6 separate regions of the Homo sapiens genome follow, and all the other regions are linked to region 2. The links are contacts of gene promoters, found by promoter capture Hi-C in blood cells and fetal thymus (Javierre and others, 2016). All regions are on one chromosome and are shown on one strand. Each heading gives the region's core, a stretch centred on a gene start or on the middle of the fragment in contact. The rest is flanking DNA. Distances are from core to core; before and after follow the strand shown. Region 1 has its middle 9.1 kb from the start of MLLT1. Region 2 holds the start of ACSBG2 (acyl-CoA synthetase bubblegum family member 2). Region 3 holds the start of PSPN (persephin). Region 4 overlaps MLLT1 (MLLT1 super elongation complex subunit). Region 5 overlaps RFX2 (regulatory factor X2). Region 6 has its middle 5.5 kb from the start of ACER1.

Region 1 (2,929 bases), core at 176-2,675, 150 kb after region 2:
CCAGGCCGTGTGGGTGGAATGAGCCCAGTGGGCCCGAGCAAAACTCAGGCAAAGGTGCCACCAGCCACAGAGGTTTCCAACCAGAAATCAACACCCCAAGGATCCTGCAACATTTTTGAGGGCTCGTCCAGGATCTGCAGAAGGGTGAGTGAAAGGGTGAGTAAAAGCAGATCTGCTCTTTCTGTCCCTTTTTAGGAGTCCCTAAACTCAACAATAGCTAAAATGAAAGAAAAACACCAGGCCTCTATTAGCCAGTTAAAATTAACTAGCAGAGATGCTGGACTTAAAACATGGATGATAGCCTTGCTGGGGAGGACACTGTCAATCCCTCATCATCCTCAAGTGTTGAGAATGTTGGGTTTGTTTCAATCCCGTTTCCTTCCATGAGGTCTACCTGTTACATGGGACCAGAAGGAGGTCCTGGGGCAACTGAGGGTATCTGGCTGAGGCTATGCCTCAGTGTTATCCAAAGGCCCCTGGACTAACTCCTGAAACTCAAGTCCCTAAGCGCCCATTAGGGTGTTGTTGGCACTAGGACCTCCAGTCTCCTATCTTTCTTTCTTTCATGGTTGTCAAGGTTCTTATCTCTTCTTTTTTTTTTTTTTTTTTGAGATGGAGTCTTGCTCTGTCGCCCAGGCTGGAGTGCAGTGGCATGGCATGATCTTGACTCCTGACCTTAGGTGATCCACCCACCTTGACCTCCCAAAGTGTTGAGATTACAGGCATGAGCCACTGCACCCAGCTCCTATCTCTTCTTTATATACAACATTAAATTTCTGTGCGCACGCGTGTGTGTGTGTGTGTGTGTGTGTGTGTGTTTGAGACAGAGCCTTGCTCTGTCGCCCAGGCTGGAGTGCAGTGGTGTGATCTTATCTCACTGCAACATCTGCCTCCAAAGTAGTTGGGATTTCAGGCATGCACCACCATGCCTGGCTAATTTTTGTATTTTAATAGAGATGGGGTTTCACCATGTTGGGCAGGCTTGTCTTGAACACCTGACCTCAGGTCATCCACCTGCCTCGCCCTCCCAAAGGGCTGGGATTACAGGTATGAGCCACCGCATCCAGCCTACAATGTTAAATGTTAAGAATGTTGCTGCAAAACAGAGAAATTACTGGATAGAATGAGCATTTGGCTTAGTCATCAAAAGTATAAAATGGAAGGTTAAGAGTAGCACAGATGAGCAAAGTGTGCCTTGGTATCTGTACATAATTTTGTGGGAAAAATGTTATTGTCATTTCCTTGGTTGCCATCTTGGTGCAAGGCACCTTGAGGCACAGAACAGAAGCATGGCCTCAGGAAGGAAGCTTTTCTGTAAACACAAGGGCAAATAAATGGTCCAAGGTCCCATACATGCAGGCCTTCTTTGCCTTGCAGGGTAATCTGGACCTTTGCCAACATTGTAGGATTGATTCAGCTGTCCTAATGGCCTTCTCAGGAGAAGCTGCAAGGGGTAATCCCAGAGAAATAGGGAAGCATACCCCAGAGGTACCTCCAGCAGGGGAATCAATCCCCTCAACTCCTCCCTATCCAGGTTCTCTCTCAAGCTTGCCCCGGCATAGTAATCCTTGTTTAAGGCAGGTCCCAGTCTCAACTGCCCAAAAACAGATGCCTGGTGAATATGGTCCCATTGAAGTTCAGTTTTCCTTTTCTCTATAGAACTTAAGGCAAATTTAAGGGGAGATCTTGGCAAGTTTTCAGATGGCCCTCACAGGTATATAGAGAGTTTCCAGAACTTAACCCAAGTATTTGAGCTCTCCTGGAAAGATGTCATGTTACTCTTGTTTTTGTTTTTGTTTGAGATGGGGTCTCACTCTGTCATCCAGGCTGGAGTGCAGTGGCACTCTCTTGGCTCACTGCAACCTCCACCTCCCAGGTTCAAGTGATTCTCCTGCCGCAGCCTCCCAAGTAGCTGGGACTACAGGCATGCACCACCACACTGGCTAATTTTTATATTTTTAGTAGACATGGGGTTTTACCATATTGGCCAGGCTGGTCTCAAACTCTTGACCTCAAGTGATCTGCCCACCTTGGTATCCCAAAGTGCTGGAATTACAGCCATGAGCTGCACCCGGCTTCATGTTACTTTTGAATCAAACCCTGACCACCACTGAAAAGCAGGCCACCCTGAAAGTGGCACAGAATTTTGGGGATGAGCTTTATATCTTATATAGGGCCAGGGAAGGGGATGAGACTTATCTGATTGGAAGAATAGCAGTACCACTGAAGAACCCTAAATGGGACCTCAATGATGAGACAAAAGAATGGGGCCAGGCGTGGTGGCTCACACCTGTAATCCCAGAACTTTGGGAGGCTGAGATGGGCGGATCATGAAGTCAGGAGATCAAGACCATCTTGCCCAACATGGTGAAACCCCATCTCTACTAAAATACAAAAAAAATAGCCAGGCATGGTGGTGCACACCTGTAGTCCCAGCTACTTGGGAGGCTGAGGCAGGGAATCACTTGAGCCTGGGAGGCAGAGATTGCAGTGAGCTGAGATCATGCCACTGCACTCCAGCCTGATGACAGAGCAAGACTCTGTCTCAAAAAAAAAAAAAAAAAAGAAAATGGAAAAGGAGGCCAGGCACGGTGGCTCACACCTGTAATCCCAGCACTTTGGAAGGCCGAGGTGGGCAGATCACGAGGTCGGGAGTTCTAGACCAGCCTGACCAACATGGTGAAACCCCATCTCTACTAAAAATACAAAAATGAATTAGCCAGATGTGGTGGCACATGCCTGTAATCCCAGCTACTCAGGAGGCTGAGGCAGGAGAATAACTTGAACTTGGGAGGTGGAGGTTGCAGTGAGCCGAGATCATGCCACTGCACTCCAGCCTCGGCGACAGAGCAAGACACCATCTCAAAAAAAAAAAAAAGAATGGAAGAGGAAACACTTTCAGGTGTGCATACCAGAGGGCATACGAAGG
Region 2 (3,011 bases), core at 229-2,728:
GAGACCAGCCTGGCCAACATGGTGAAAACCCATCTCTACTAAAAATACAGAAAATTAGTCGGGAGTGGTGGTGCATGCCTGTAACCTCAGCTACTTGGGAGGCTGAGGCAGGAGAATCGCTTGAACCCGGGAGGCAGAGGTTGCAGTGAGCCAAGATCACGCTATTGCACTCCAGTCTGGGCAACAAGAGCCAAACTCCGTCTCTCTCTCTCTCTCACACACACACACAAAAGGCCCTGGAGACAAAGGAACACTCCTTGTCCTTTTCTCCTGGCACAGCACAAGATTCTGTTGCTACATCTTTATTTACTGAGCATCTAGTATGTGCTGCACCTGGCACTGTTTTGTCTTTTTTGTTTTGAGACAAGGTCTTGCTCTGTAGGCCTGGCTGGAGTGCCATGGTACCATCACAGCTCACTGCAGCCTGGAACTCCTGGGCTCAAACAATCCCCCCACCTCAGCCTCCCTACTAGCTGTGGTTACACTTGCGCACCACCACGCCCGGCTAATTTTTTAAATTTTTCTGTAGAGACGGGGTCTTACTACATTGCCCAGGCTGGTTTTGAACTCCTGGCCTCAAGTGATGCTACGGACTTGGCCTCCCAAAGTGCTGGGATTCCAGGCACAAGCCACTGTGCCTGGTAGTGGACATTGTTAGCAGTGACTAAAGCAGAGAACGAGAAGGGGGAGGCCGCTGTAAACACATGAAGACAGGCAGCGTAAGAGAAAGTCACGAGGGCAGGAATAACATCCAGGCATACTTCAGATCCCAGCTCAAGAAACCACTCCCAGGCCAGGCGCGGTGGCTCACGCCTGTCATCTCAGCACTTTGGGAGGCCAAGGCGGGCGGATCACAAGGTCAGGAGTTTGAGACCAGCCTGGCCAACATGGCGAAACCCCGTCTGTACTAAAAATACAAAAGATTAGCCGGGCGTGGTGGCGGGCGCCTGTAATCCCAGCTACTCGGGAGGCTGAGGCAGGAGAATCGCTTGAACCTGGGAGGCAGACGTTGCAGTGAACTGAGATCGCACCATTGCACTCCAGCCTGGGTGACAGAGCAAGACTCCCGTCTCAAAAAACGAAAGAAAAGAAAGAAACCACTCCCAGACTCCCTGCCTGGGCGGGATCCTTTGATCAAGCCCTCAACATGCCTTGGGGCTCTCTTCACAATGGTAAGTTTGCATTTGTTTGTGTGATTCTAGGCCTCCTCTTATTTTCTTGAACAGGCCTCATCTGGCTTTGTTCATCTTTATGTCTCCAGCATCCAGCACAATCCCTGCCATTAGGGTCATGGCTTCATAAAAACGTCACGAATGCAACGCAGAAGTGCATGCATGCATGAATAAATGAATGATGCATGAAAAGAGCAATCTCCCTGTCCTGGAAGCAGCTTCCCCTAGGGGTGGGGGTGGGGTGCGGAGGCAGGGGCAGCCAGTGATGTCACAAGAGGTGGCTGGGATGGAACGTTCTGGAAGGTTGAATGGGGTAGAAGGCCTGTTGTGGAGGGAAACCACCCATCCTCCTGCCTCCCACCACCACCATCATCCTGGCTGGACGGAGAGGGTGACGGGGGCTGGGAAGGGGCAGCTCATGTTCAGGTTTCCAGGAGGGGCTACCTGTTGACTGTCTTTGCAGGAAGAAGAAAACACCTGAGTGACCAGATGTCCCAGCTCCAGGTGCCTTGCCAGATGGCCAGAACCACACCTCTTGAAGAGTGACAGGTGCCAGTGGTATGGGAGAAGGGCATGCGTTTTCTTTTCTTTTTTTTTTGAGACAGGGTCTCACTCTTTTGCCCAGGCTATAGTGCAGTGGCACGATCTCAGCTCACTGCAACCTCTGCCTCCCAGGCTCAAGTGATACTCCCACCTCAACCTCCCAAGTAGCTGAGATTACAGGCGCCTGCCACCATGTCCAGCTAATTTTTTTTTTTTTTTTGAGACAGAGTCTTGCTCTGTTGCCCAGGCGCAATCTCGGCTCACTGCAAGCTTCGCCTCCCAGGTTCACACCATTCTCCTGCCTCAGCCTCCTGAGTAGCTGGGACTACAGGTGCCTGCCACCATGCCCGGCTAATTTTTTGTATTTTTTAGTAGAGATGGGGTTTCACCACATTAGCCAGGATAGTCTCAATCTCCTGACCTCGTGATCCACCCGCCTTGGCCTCCCAAAGTGCTGGGATTACAGGCGTGAGCCGCCATACTCGGCCTAATTTTTATATTTTTAGTAGAGATGGGGTTTCGCCATACCAGCCAGGCTGGTCTTGAACTTCTGACCTCAGGTGATCCACCCGCCTCGACCTCTCAAAGTGCTGGGATTATAGGCACGCGCCACCATGCCCAGCTAATTTTTGTATTTTTAGTAGAGATGGGGTTTCACCATGCCAGCCAGGCTGGTCTCGAACTCCTGGCCTCAAGCGATCCACCCGACTCAGCCTCCCAAAGTGCTGGGATTACAGGTGTGAGTCACCACATCTGAACCCTACATGGCCTTTTAAAATTGTGAAACATATAATGCATATAAAATAACACAAAGCATATCTGTACGATTTAATGAATAACGATAAATATCTGTGTGCCCTTTTCACTTCGTGAAATCGAATATTACTAGTAACTTACAAGTCCTCTGTAGAGAACTCCTGAGCTCAAGTGATCCACCTGCCACGGCCTCCCAAAGTGCTGGGATCACAGGTGTGAGCCTCCGCACCCGGCCGATCGTGTGATTTTTAACGTGCAGTTCCCTGATGACCAAAGCTACTGAGCATCTTGTCCAGGATTTGTAGCCCTTTCCAGGCTCCTTTTTTGTGAACTGCCTGTTTACATTTTTCATCATAAAACACTGGGTTGTTTACATTTGTCTTTTAAATCCAGAGTTCTTTTCATACTCCGGATACTAATTTTATTTGCCCATTTTGCATTGCCATAAAGTAATACCTGAAGATGGGCAATTTATAAAGAAAAGAGGGGCCTGGTGTGGTGGCTCACACCTGCAAATCCCAGCACTTTGGGAGGCCGAGG
Region 3 (2,970 bases), core at 204-2,703, 240 kb after region 2:
ATCGCCGGCCTGTCTCTCCTGTCTCCCAGCGTTATGCGGCTGGTGCACACCCAGGAGCCGGGGGAGTGGCTGGAACTCTTGCTGGAGCCGGGCTCCCTCTACATCCTTAGGTACCTCCATCCAGGCAGCACCCACCCCTCCAAGAATGTGCCATCCGCCCACCCTGTGCCCTGGGTACTTTCCCTCAATCCAGCCCTCCCCGAAGACGCCTTTACCCCAGGGTCTGTGTGGGAGGCAGCAGGGGGCTGGAATCCAGGAGGCTGGAATCCAGGTCTGCCTGGAGCAGGGGCTGCCCTCCTTGCACCCAGTCACAGCCTGTTTCTTCCTGCAGGGGCTCAGCCCGTTATGACTTCTCCCATGAGATCCTTCGGGATGAAGAGTCCTTCTTTGGGGAACGCCGGATTCCCCGGGGCCGGCGCATCTCCGTGATCTGCCGCTCCCTCCCTGAGGGCATGGGGCCAGGGGAGTCTGGACAGCCGCCCCCAGCCTGCTGACCCCCAGCTTTCTACAGACACCAGATTTGTGAATAAAGTTGGGGAATGGACAGCCTAACTGGGACATTGCAGTGGCTGCTTGCTGGGGCCGGGATTTGCAGGGGAACCCAGGATGGCACTGGCCCATAGGGAGCTCCAGGTGTGGCTGGCTGGACACATGGTCAAAGTCACAAGGCCGGGAGAGTGGTGTCCTTTATTGCACTCACTGCTGGTCGCCCCAGCCCACTCCCCTCCTCGTTGTCTCTGCATCCAGGTCTCCAATAAATAAGTCAGCCGAGCTCCCCCAGCACTGCAGCTTCTGGGTGCCAGGCCGGGCACCCTCAGCCACCACAGCCGCAGGCAGCCGCCGAGAGCTGGGGCAGCCGCTGCCAGCGGTGGCGGTCATCGAGGAAGGCCACGTCGGTGTAGCGAGTGGGCCGGCAGCAGGGCCCGCCGTGGGCTCGGCCCTGGCCCTGCAGCCGGGCCAGCGCCAGGCCATGCTGGGTGCGGGCACCACGGGGGCAGCTGCCGGCGCAGTAGCGGAAGATGACCTTCTCCTCTGAGGCGTAGCCCAGGCCTAGCTCTGCCACGGACAGGGTCAGGCTCCACAGCTGGCATGGACCAGACAGGGCTCGGCGCAGGCGGGCAAGGGGGCGGTGGGTGCCTGTGGGAGGGAAGGGCGCTGACAGTGAGCAGGGTCAGGGCTGGGGAAAGTTGGGAAGTCACAGAGGGTCCCTGGAAGTCCTTACCCAGCCAGGTCCCTCCAGCCTTTGCCACCTGTTCAGACGAGAACTCTCCATCGGCCACGGGAACCCCACGGGCATCGGGGCCCCAGCCCTGTCCCAGCTGCAGGGACAGGAGCAGCAGGGAGCCCAGCAGGAACTTCCCTACGGCCATTGTGACGGGCAGGTCCTGAGAGTGGGAGCTGTGCCCCAAATTTATGCCCTGCCTGGGCTGGGAGCTAACCTCTTCACTGCCGGCCCCTGCAGCCAGGAGGCCCCACGTCTGCACCAGCCCATCTCCTGCACCCTCGAATCCAGGCATCTGCTCCTTCTGCCCCACACCCCACCCTTCTAAGAGTTAAGGGCTCACCCCCAGCCTACCCCACCCCGACATTCCACACAGCCATTTCCGACGCCCCAGACACCCCCTGATTTACGAGTGCTGTGCTGGCGGCCAGGGCAGGCAACTGGTGTTCCCCCGACCTGCTGCCTGGAGTGGAAGTCAGGGGGCTTCATGGGACCCCGGTGGGGTCCCTCCCCACTAAGTCAGGGTGCTGGGGCTCAGGAGCCCCCACGTGTATCATGTGCCAGGTGGAGCATATGTGAGTGCTGGGAAAGGTGGCTTGGCAGGGGACTGAGTCCACGGGAACCCTCCATGGTGGCTCCCGCCTGGAGGATTAGGACATCATGCCCCTGTCTCCGGGCCTGGCTGAGCCAGCATCAAAACAGGAAAAGGGAGAGGCCTGGGGACAGCCAAGGGTGGGGACACAAGGGGACAGGGACGCCTGTCTCGGGAAGGCCAACCTGAGACCCCTATAACTGCAGCCCCATCCTGGGATCTGAGCATGTCAGAGCCCCCGGGGCGATGGAGGCTGTCCAGGTCATGGTAACGTCTAGCACGATGCAGACAGATAAGGGCTCTCGAGGCTTCCATACCCAGCCCCGTGTGAGCCCAGTCCCCTCACCGGTACAGGGGAGCTCCTCAGAACCCCTCCTACTCGGCTTGGTGAGGAAAGAGATGGGCACTTAGAGTGTAAGGCAGTGCCCGTAGCTTCGAATGCAAAAACAAGCAAACAGCTTGTGATTGTCCGAAGGGGTGCTTGACTCTAAGCACCCACAAGATTGGGGAAAATCAGAAAACCCTCACACACAACCCGTGTGACCCAGGTGCACCCTGTGCTGTTGGTGGGGGTGTAAATTGCTAGCAGCTCTTTGGATGAGCAGCTGCTACTGGGGAATTGTAAATTACACCCTCTGCCCCAGGAGCCCTGTTTGCGGGGTTCCTCCCACACAGGCAAGTGAAACAGCCAGCACAGGGACATCTGATGCCTTCTTCATATTAGGAAAGTCTGGAAGTGGCCTCAACTCCATCCGTGAGGGATTGCTTCGATGATTATGTTGTGGTTTTTCTTACTGAAGTGCTTATTGAGATGATAATTTTCCGATGGAAAGAAAAGCCTGGGCTTGGCGTGGTGGCTCATGCCTCGGGAGGCTGAGGCGGGTGGATTACCTGAGGTCAGGAGTTTGAGACCAGCTTGACCAACATGGTGAAATCCATCTCTATTAAAAATACAAAAATTAGCTGGGCATGGTGGTGGGCGCCTGTAATCCCAGCTACTCGGGAGGCTGAGGCAGGAGAATTGCTTGAACCTGAGAGGTGGAGGTTGCAGTGAGCTGAGATTGTGCCATTGCACTCAAACCTGGGCGACAGAGCGATACTGTCTCAAAAAAGCCTGGCGGGGCCCAGTGGCTCATGCCTATAATCCCAGCACTTT
Region 4 (3,141 bases), core at 195-2,694, 130 kb after region 2:
GAAAACAAAAAGGCTAAGAAGCATATGGCTGTGTGGGTGTATTGGGCAACGAAACCGCGATTGAGCCCAGGCAGCCAGAGGACTCCCTAAAAAGGGTGACGTGGGACTCTTCTGTGAAGGATCCCAAAGGTAAACAGGCTCACATCATCATTCAAAGTCACAAAGACAACCAACGCAAAAGCGAGTCACTGGACTATTAAAAACTTAGAGAAGACAGTGGATAAAAGGGGTACTTTGGGATAAATTCTAACCCTTCAAGCTGGTAAATCAGTAAGTATTGTCTACATTTAAAAAATCAAGAAATAAGAAGCAAATGAGCTGGTATTAAGAGGAGTCCAGAGAGGGCTAGGAAGACAGCCCCGGGGAGGGAGGACTAAGGAGGCCAGGAACAGCAACTTTGTACCTTACATGTTTCTACCCTATTTGATTTGTGATAATGTAAGCTGGGGCGGAAGTAAAAGATACTTTTTAAGTACCTCAAGTATCAATCCAGAGGCTGGAGTGCTCTAAGAGGTTCACTCCCTCTCTAAAGTTTTATTCAATGCCACAGAGTGTGAGCTGGAAATTTACTTTCTGATACATTTGATGGGGCCGCTATCTGCCTCCAGGCCCCACAGACAGACAGCAACAAACAGGGCTCAGCTACTAATTTAAAGGCCGCCTGCAAACTGACACTGAAGCCTGGCATGGTGGCACATGCCTGCCAGGAGCTCAAGACAAGCCTGGGCAACACGACAAACAAAAAACAAAACAAAACAAAAAACTAAAAACTAACCCTTAAGAGTGAGCCCCACTCACTACCCCACCTTCCAGGTACTTGGAGAAGGTGCCATGTCAACGTGGTGGGGAACAAAGGTGAAATCAACAGCCTCAAAGTGGATGGAAATCAGCGTCCGGGGCCCATCCCTGTGCTCCAGGGACAGAGAAAAGGGGAGGGGTGAGGGGGTTGGTGAAGAAGTGGAGTGGATGCCACCAGAGAAAGGAAAGAGGGCCTGGTGCAGGAGGGGCAGCCAGGCTCCTGCTCTGCCAACGTGGCACAAAAGCAGCCACAGGCAACACCTATGCGGGCGGGCATGGCCGTGCACCAATAAAAACAGGCTGCACTGGCAGTGGCCAGACCCAGCCCACAGGCCAGCCTGCCCACCCTGCTCTAAGCACAGGTAGCGGCCTGCCCCCTGGACCCGTCTCCCCGTCTGCAGAAGAGGGCTGTGGCGAGAAGAAAACGCGATCCTGCGCACGAAGCGCTGGCCAGGAAGTGCTCGATAGATGGCATGTGTCCCCACGATTAGGAAGCGGTTTATAAACATCTGCCGCTGTCAGGAGCCTCCGCGGCCATCCTCTAAGAGGCTTAGAGAGGGAGGAAGGAAAAGGGGAAAAGGTGAAGACTCAGGAAAGGAGAAATGCAGAGGGAAAGAGAAGCCGCAGGCTGAGGGAATCGCAGGTGGGCATCCCTTCAGAATGACAAGCCTCTACTGCTGTCAACGCCCATCACTTCCCCACTAGGCTGCAAACCACTTACAGGCTCAGGGCCAGGGTCCTGGGTCCCGGGTCCCGGGAAGCTCTTGCTTCAACCTAAGCACACCCACGCTTGTGCACGGCTCACCTCCCGTGGCCCCTGGAGCTCCCGGGACCCCCGTATTGCAGGGTAGAGGGGTCACCAGCCCAGCCAGGGCTCTTCCCACCCTGAAGTGCTTCCTACAGAAAGTCCCTCATTCCTTTATCAAGACATCACCCAAGAAGCATTTATCGAACCCCTGTGATGTGCCGGGCTCCGGGCTTCACACTGGCGACTCAGCGGTAAGAAAAGTAGACGCGGCCCCAGCCCTGATGGCGCTCACCAGACCACCACCTCACTCTCCGATTCCCCACCACAGCCTTTCCCTAGGGCTCACTTCCCCAGGAGGGCATCCCTGATCATAAACTGGGTGACTTCCTGCCTGTGCCCCGTCACACTGCACCCTCCAGGAAGGCCAGGGCCCCCACGCCACAGGTGGAGACGCTGACAGAATACACGACTGAGGCACTCGTGCTGAATCAATGACGGCCTGAGGCTTGAAGGGAGAGGGAAGACACGGAAAAGACAGTGGTGACATGAGCTCCGGCATTCTTTCTGCCCCAAATATTGGGAATTCTTCACATGGCACACAAACAAACATAGGCCCGGTCGGCAACTTCCTGATCACTCACCAGCCGGCTGACTTCACCTGTCCCACCCATGCCAACCTGGCTGTGCTCCCTGGCTGCTTCCCAGAGCCCGGGTCTAAATCACGACACAACAGACCGCCACCACCTCCTTCGGTTCTTCCTACGACTAACTCAACAGCTGGAGGTGACACGGCTCCAGTGCCCCCACGCCGAGGGACGCAAGCTGGAACCTCATGGTTGGAGGGGTCCTGCTGCTCCTGAGGGAGGGGTGGAGCCTGGCCTTGGGAGGAGTGAAGACAGATGGGTCCGTGCTGTGGGCACTCAGGGCTTGAGGCCACTCACCGCGTCTGGGCTTGGGGAAGCTGTCGTGCAGCCAGAAGACCACCTTCTCCACGAAGTGCTGGATGTCACATTGCTCGGGGCCGCGGACAAACACCATCCAGTCGTGAGTGAACCCCTCCGTGGTGGGCTTCTTGCGCAGTTGGGCGCGATGCCCCAGCTCTAACCTCACCTGGACGGTGCACTGGAGGAGAGAGAGGTGGGGAGATGAAGTCAGCACACGCCTCCAAGCAGGGGACTGTCCCCTTACCCACAGAGAACTTTCGATAAAGACCCCCAGCAGTGCAATACGCTCTCAACCCAGTGAGCAGCACACAGACGGCTTCCTATCGCGCCAGCACCTTGCCGCAGACGTCCCGTGCCTTCTCCCCTCCGTACTCCCACACAGACCCCGTGTCTCCTCTCATCCACCGCCTCATCCTCAATTCCACCCGCACAGCCTCCTCACCGGTCCCCAGCTCAGCCCAGCTCACTCCTGCCTCGGGGCCACCACACTGGCCTAGGATCCTCTGCTCCTGAGACTTCCCACACTGGCGCCTCTTGTCACTGGGCTCTCAGCTTGACTGTCCCTCTGCAGGGAAGCCTCCCCTGACCACCGATCCAAAAGCATCCACCACCGCTCCCATCACTCTATCATAGAGGATGCTCTTCCGAGCA
Region 5 (3,167 bases), core at 374-2,873, 130 kb before region 2:
GAGAGATGATGGAGTGGAGAGAGCTGGGGGCTGTGGGTGGGCTTTGGCCTGGGACCCGTGTCATGCAACAGAACCGTGGCCAGGCTCGGGGCAGGGGCCAGGTTGTGCCACGGGCTCCACTTGGTGGGTTTGCTGGTTTTGCTGGAGGGCGGGAAGCCCGGGCCCTGGGGACGGTGTGGAGGAAGTCACCTGCACGTTGGCAAAGTCCACGCGGTTGAGGTCGCTGAGCATCTGGTTGATCTGGGACGTGTTCTGCAGCACCGCCCGGGCCGCCTGCGCCAGGTGGTTGAGGGACGTGTAGCGCCGCAGCGTCTGGGCGAAGGCACTGACGACGCCCACCTGTAAGCCAGGGCTCGTGGTGAGCAGGGGTTCGCAGGGAGAGCCTGTTCCGCTGCGCTCCTTGCAGGGGTGTGTGGGCTCAGGGACAACACAGGGAGGAGGGAGCAGGAAACAGCAACCTGGGCAGGGAAGAGGGAACCTCCTGCTATTCTTAAGGACCCAGTGTGTGAGAATCAGTGAAGAGGAGACCTCGCCGGCACATCACACACGTCGCTAACTGAGGCCTGCGTGCTGCTGAGTTAGAATTCACAACTGTCGCCATGCCCACTTCTAGAGTCCCTGTGGTTCTCTGGAGGGGCTGTTGAGACCACAGACTCCTGAGTGCTACAGGATCAGACTTTTAGTGGGTGTGGCCTGGGAATCTTATTTTTTTTAAGAGATGGGGTCTTGCTTGTTGTTGCCCAGGCTGGTCTCAAACTCGTGGCATCAAATGATCCTCCAGTCTCTGTCTCCCAAAGTGCTGGGATTACAGGTGTGAGCCACTGCACCGGCCCTGAATGTGACTTTTTAACAATGACCTGATCAATGCTTGCATCACTGCCTAACAGATCAATTCCGAAGAGCAGGCGGGTGCCCTGCAGCTGCCTCCTCTCACCCAAGAGCCCTTCAGGAAATGCTCATGATGGCTGGGTGAGGTGGCTCACACCTGTAATCCCGGTACTTTGGGAGGCCAAGGCAGGTGGATCGCCTGAGGTCAGGAGTTCGAGACCAGCCTGGCCAACATGGCGAAACCCTGTCTCTACTAAAAATACAAAAAAATTAGCCAGGTGTGGTGGCGGGCACCTGTAATCCCAGCTATTCGGGAGGCTGAGGCAGGAGAATCGCTTGAACCCGGGAGGCAGACGTTGCAGTGAGCTGAGATAACACCATTGCACTCCAGCCTGGGCGACAGAGTGAGACTCTGTCTCAAAAAAAAAAAAAAAAAAAAAAAAAAAAAAGAAATGCTTGTGAGAACGGTGGGTAATCACTCTCTTTTCCACAAGTCGGCCAAGGTTCTACATTTCAAATTCGACTGATTTGTGGCCAAGATTGCAGCAATAAGGGTCACAGCAAGGAGATTAAATTTCCCGAATAAGATGAGCACAGAAACACGCAATCTGTTCTGAATTGACCCAAAGATGTGACATCAAATGACATCTTCTGTTGTTCCCCTTCCTGCCAGCACTGACGCGTCACCGGCAGTGTGCTCAGGGCTTCCTGAAGGGATCGGTTACTCTCATGACGCAGGGAAGAAGCCAGCGCTCTCTGGGACACAGTGGTCCTCATGCTGTCCTGGACTGGAGCCCCTCCCAGCCATCGTTGGGGAGCCCAGGCCCCACCCCGGACGCACCTTGGTCTGGATGACCTGTTGTGGGAAGTCACTCATGGCATTTGTCAACCAGCCTTCCAAGCTCTTGGCAAAGTTACGGATGGCCTGTGTCAAGGTACCTGGGGGATACAGACCATGATATTACCAGGGAGAAAGGCAGTGACTGGACCCTGGAAATCAGCATTCAGTGTAAGAGCTGGCCCAAGTGCGATGAAAATGACCACCATGAAGAACGAGCCACACAGGCGACGGGGAACCGAGGACACTTAGAAACGGGAAGAACCAGGCATGGCCCAGCGCTGCTGGTCACCACCCACTGCCTATGCGGGTCTCACAGGGGCGATTCTGCCCCAGGGGACACTGGGCAATGTCTGGGGACGTTAATGGTGGTCATGACTGCAGGGTGCCTCAGGCATGGAGTGGGTGGAGGCTAGGGATGCTCCTCAGCACCCCACAGTGCCCAGGAGGGCCCCACCCCAGACAACGATCCAGCCCCAGATATCAACAGTGCCAAGGGAAAGAGGCCTTGACACAAACACACACACACACGTAAATACATTCTACCAACTTCCTAATTTATTTTAAAGTGGGTTAGAATAAGAAGCAAATGATCAGACTGTTAAAAAAAAAAAAAACCAAAAAACAAAAACAGAAAAAGGCCAGGTGTGGTGGCTGACGCCTGTAGTCCCAGCACTTTGGGAGGCCGAGGTGGGCGGATCACCTGAGGTCCGGAGTTCGAGACCAGCCTGGCCAACATGGTGAAACCCTATCTCTACTAAAAATACAAAAATGATCTGGACGTGGCGGTGGGTGCCTGTAGTCCCAGCTATTTGGGAGGCTGAGGCAGGAGAATCACTTGAACCCAGGAGGCAAAGACTGCAGTGAGCCTCCTGCAATCCAGCCTGAGTGACAAGAGCAAAACTCTGTCTTAAAAAAAACCAGAAAAATATTTTAAAATGCAAAAGGAAAGATACCCCAAACTCCCACCATAACATAGAAACTCAGACGAGGCATTGCCCTGAACAGTTTTCAGGCAGACAGGCAAGGCCAGGCCAAATGAGAAATGCAATACTTTTGCTGTTTCCCATCTTCCAGCAAAGGGAGCATAGAGTTTACTCAACAGGACGGAGAGCTGCCTGGTACTAACGGGCATGCATATTTGTGGATGGCCTGAGGGGCACGGTCCATGGGCCCGGATGTTTGTGGATGGACTGCGGGGCATGGCCTGTGGTCCTGATGCTGTGATTTATGAAGAGAGGCCTCTGTGCCCAGCTTCCTTGACGACCCCCAGGGTTTTGGGGAGCTTGGCACGGGCCTGGCCCGAGGGCTCCCTCGTGGTGGGTGCTGTCATTGCCTCAGGAGCTGGAGGCCCTGGGAGGTCTCCAAGGGCACGAGTGATCTCTGCCGTGGGCCTAGCTTCCTTCCTCACTGTGCCTGTCACTCTCTCCCCACCCCACCAAGTCCTGTGGGAAATCACAGGGTGGGGCGCTGGGGTGTAAATGTCTCCTGGAATCCCACG
Region 6 (3,163 bases), core at 71-2,570, 200 kb after region 2:
AGCCTTCTGAGTAGCTGGGATTACAGGCGTGGACCACCCTGCCTGGCCAAAGTTTTCTTTTTCTTTTTCTTTTCTTTTCTTTCTTTCTTTCTTTTTTTTTTTTTTTTTTTTTTTTTTTTTTTTGAGATGGAGTCTTGCTCTGTCGCCCAGGCTGGAGTGCAGTGGCTCGATCTTGGCTCACTGCAAGCTCCGCCTCCTGGGTTCATGCCATTCTCCTGCCTCAGCCTCCCGAGTAGCTGGGACTGCAGGCACCCACCACCAACGCCTGGCTAATTTTTTTGTATTTTTAGTAGGGACAGGGTTTCACCATGTTAGCCAGGATGGTCTCGATCTCCCGACCTCGTGATCCACCCACCTCGGCCTCCCAAAGTGCTGGGACTACAGGCGTGAGCCACCGCGCCCAGCCCCAGAATTTTCTTTTTAAAATAATATTTTGGCCCAGTGCAGTGGCTTACACCTCTAATTCCACCGCTGCACTCTAACCTGGGCAAAAAGAGGGAAACCCTGTCTCAAAAAAAAATAGTTAATTAAATAAAATAAAAATAAAATAATAAAATAAATATGTATTTTTTAAGAGATGGAGTCTTGCTCCGTTTCCTAGGCTGGAGGGCAGTGGTAAAATCCTAGCTCACAGCAATGTCAATTTCCTGGGCTCAAGCAATCTTCTCACCTTCGCCTCCCAAGTTGCTGGGAGTACAGGTATGAGCTACTGTGCCCTGGCCAAAATAAATGTAAGTGTTACAATTGTGGTTGTGTTTGCACAGATCTATACATGTGATATTATTGCATAGATTTGCTCCCATTTTTCTGAGAAAATGAAAAGAAAATTGTCTAACACATGAATGCATGGGAAAAGCTGTTGAAATCTGAATATGGTCTATAGGTCATATTTATATCACCTTTCTGGTTGTGAAAATGTATAGTTATAAAAGAGGTACCACTGGGAGAAACTGGATGAAGATTACCTGGGATTCTTCTATATTATTATTGCAGGTTCCTGCAAGTTTATAATTATTCCATTTTTTTTAATGTGTTTGATAGAGGGTCTCACTCTGCTGCCAGGCTTGAGTGCAGTGGTGCAATCACAGGCCACTGCAGCCTCAACCTCCTGGGCTCAAGTGATCCTCACACCTTAGCCTCCCAAGTAGCTGGGACTACAGGCCAGGCAAATTTTTTCTATTTTTTGTAGAGACAGGTTCTCACTATGTCTCCCAGACTGCTCTCTAATTCCCGAGCTCAAGCGATCCTTCCACCTCAGCCTCCCAAAGTGCTAGAATTACATGTGTGAGCCACCGCACCTGGCCTTAAAATCTTTTTTTTTTTTTAAGACCGAGTCTCTTCCTGTCATCCAGGCTAGAGTGCAATGGTGCAATCTCGGCTCACTGCAACCTCCGCCTCCTGGGTTCAAATGATTCTCCTGCTTCAGCCTCCCGATAGCTGGGATTACAGGCGCCCACCACCACGTCGGGCTAATTTTTACATTTTTAGTAGAGATGGGGTTTCAGCATGTTAGCCAGGCTGGTTTGGAACTCCTGACCTCAGGTGATCCGCCTGCCTCAGCCTCCCAAAGTGCTGAGATTACAGGCATGAGCCACCGCACCCAGCCTAAAAATCTCTTTTTATAAAGGGATTGATTTAGATTTTTAATTAATACATGAATGGATAAACACAATGTGTGTGGTTCATCCATACCGTGGAATATTATTCAGCCCTGAAAAAGGAAGGAAATTCTGATACAGGCAACAACGTGGATGGACTTTGAGGACATCAAGCTGGGTGAAATAAGCCAGACATAAAAGGACAAATCCTGTGTGATCCCACTCCTAGGAGGTCCCCAAAGTCCTCAGAGTCACAGAGACAGGAAGTAGAACGGGGGGTATGAGGGGCTGGGGAGGGGGATAGGGAGTGAGTGTTTCTTGGGGACAGAGTTTCAGTTTGGAAAGATGAGAAAGTTCTGGAGGGGATGGTGGTGATGGCTGCATAGACATGCGAATGTGCTTAATGCCGCTGAACTATGCATTTGATGATTAAAATGATCAGTTTCGTGTTATGTATCTTTTACCACAATTTTACAAAGTAATGATTTAGGGTTTTTGTTTTTGTTTTTTGTTTTTTGAGATGGAGTCTCTCTCTGTTGCCCAGGCTGGAGTGCAGTGGTGCGATCTCGGCTCACTGCAAGCTCCGCCTCCCGGGTTCACGCCATTCTCCTGCCTCAGCCTCCCGATGGGACTACAGGCGCCCGCCACCACACCCGGCTAAGTTTTTTTTGTATTTTTAGTAGAGACGGGGTTTCACCGTGTTAGCCAGGATGGTCTTGATCTCCTGACCTCATGATCCGCCCGCCTCAGCCTCCTAAAGTGCTGGGATTACAGGCGTGAGCCACCACGCCTGGCCTGATTTAGGTTTTTAAAAGAGGGGTTTGGGGCTGGGCGTGGTGGCTCACACATGTAATCCCAGCATTTTGGGAGACTGAGGCAGGTGGATCACTTGAGGTCAGGGTTCAAGACCAGCCTGGCCAACATGGTGAGACACCGTCTCTACTAAAAATAAAAAAAATAAAATTAGCCAGGCGTGGTGGTGCGTGCCTGTAATCCCAGCTACTCGGGAGGCTGAGGTACGAGAATCACTTGAGCCTGGGAGGTGGAGGTTGTAGTCAGCCAAGATCGCGCCACTACACTCCAGCCTGGGCATAGAGCAAGACTCTGTCTCCAAAAAAAGAAAGAAGGAAGGAAGGAAGGAAGGAAGGAAGGAAGGAAGGAAGGAAGGAAGGAAGGAAGGAAGGAAGGAAGGAAGGAAGGAAGGAAGAAAAACAGAACTAAAGCTTGACCTGACTCTGTATAGCACCCCTCCACAAACATACACCATTTAGCTACAGCCCTAGCCCCCAAATCCGCTTCCCAGGTGGACCAGGAGGGCAAACAGACACCACCACTGCCACCCCAGCTCCCCAGTAGCGACCCTGACTCCTTCCCCATGGAGTAATTTTGAAACAGTCTCTGCTCTGTGTGTGGGTGGAGCAGATGGTCTCTGAGGCCCCTTTCTGCTCATAGCTGGAACAGGACCCAGCTGCTGAGATCCTGAATCTTGGCGAGGGTTTAATAGCAGGCAGTAAGGTAGTGACTGGCACCCACGCCCAGCCCAGACCGGAGAACTTGAGTGATCA

What was found. The method cuts DNA at HindIII sites, captures the fragments that hold promoters and counts their contacts. A CHiCAGO score of 5 or more calls a contact.
Region 1: a contact is called between a fragment that was not itself captured here and the fragment with the promoter of ACSBG2 in region 2, in 3 of 17 cell types (M2 macrophages, M1 macrophages and M0 macrophages). The highest score is 9.1, in M2 macrophages.
Region 3: a contact is called between the fragment with the promoter of PSPN here and the fragment with the promoter of ACSBG2 in region 2, in 10 of 17 cell types (M0 macrophages, megakaryocytes, M2 macrophages and 7 more). The highest score is 9.4, in M0 macrophages.
Region 4: a contact is called between a fragment that was not itself captured here and the fragment with the promoter of ACSBG2 in region 2, in 2 of 17 cell types (M2 macrophages and M1 macrophages). The highest score is 6.2, in M2 macrophages.
Region 5: a contact is called between a fragment that was not itself captured here and the fragment with the promoter of ACSBG2 in region 2, in 1 of 17 cell types (neutrophils). The highest score is 5.2, in neutrophils.
Region 6: a fragment that was not itself captured here is called in contact with the fragment with the promoter of ACSBG2 in region 2 in 2 of 17 cell types (M1 macrophages and M2 macrophages); the score reaches 7.3 in M1 macrophages.

The regions. Positions count from the first base shown.
Region 1 is chr19:6,287,579-6,290,507 of GRCh38, forward strand. No RefSeq gene overlaps it. Among named protein-coding and RNA genes, the nearest start is that of MLLT1, 9.1 kb to the left of the region's middle. The HindIII fragment of the contact is 240 bases long and covers 1,306-1,545 here.
Region 2 is chr19:6,134,189-6,137,199 of GRCh38, forward strand. ACSBG2 (acyl-CoA synthetase bubblegum family member 2) reads left to right here and starts at 1,479. Exons shown (of 15, transcript NM_030924.5): 1 at 1,479-1,721. All of the region lies in intron 3 of LOC105372255 (a long non-coding RNA gene), which reads right to left. RefSeq lists enhancers at 443-1,346, 1,347-2,249. The HindIII fragment of the contact is 9,635 bases long and covers 1-1,983 here.
Region 3 is chr19:6,374,480-6,377,449 of GRCh38, forward strand. It overlaps PSPN (persephin), which reads right to left and starts at 1,454. Exons shown (of 2, transcript NM_004158.5): 1 at 1,223-1,454; 2 at 669-1,137. The coding sequence starts at 1,370. The coding sequence ends at 815. It overlaps ALKBH7 (alkB homolog 7), which reads left to right. Exons shown (of 4, transcript NM_032306.4): 3 at 1-110; 4 at 332-771. The coding sequence ends at 494. The HindIII fragment of the contact is 10,611 bases long and covers 1-2,970 here.
Region 4 is chr19:6,268,092-6,271,232 of GRCh38, forward strand. It overlaps MLLT1 (MLLT1 super elongation complex subunit), which reads right to left. Exons shown (of 12, transcript NM_005934.4): 2 at 2,488-2,668. Among named protein-coding and RNA genes, the nearest start is that of MLLT1, 10 kb to the right of the region's middle. The HindIII fragment of the contact is 3,500 bases long and covers 1-3,141 here.
Region 5 is chr19:6,002,532-6,005,698 of GRCh38, forward strand. It overlaps RFX2 (regulatory factor X2), which reads right to left. Exons shown (of 18, transcript NM_000635.4): 13 at 1,670-1,767; 14 at 190-339. All of the region lies in intron 1 of RANBP3-DT (RANBP3 divergent transcript), which reads left to right. Among named protein-coding and RNA genes, the nearest start is that of RANBP3-DT, 26 kb to the left of the region's middle. The HindIII fragment of the contact is 5,939 bases long and covers 1-3,167 here.
Region 6 is chr19:6,337,571-6,340,733 of GRCh38, forward strand. It overlaps a transcript of ACER1 not described here. Among named protein-coding and RNA genes, the nearest start is that of ACER1, 5.5 kb to the left of the region's middle. The HindIII fragment of the contact is 2,998 bases long and covers 1-2,819 here.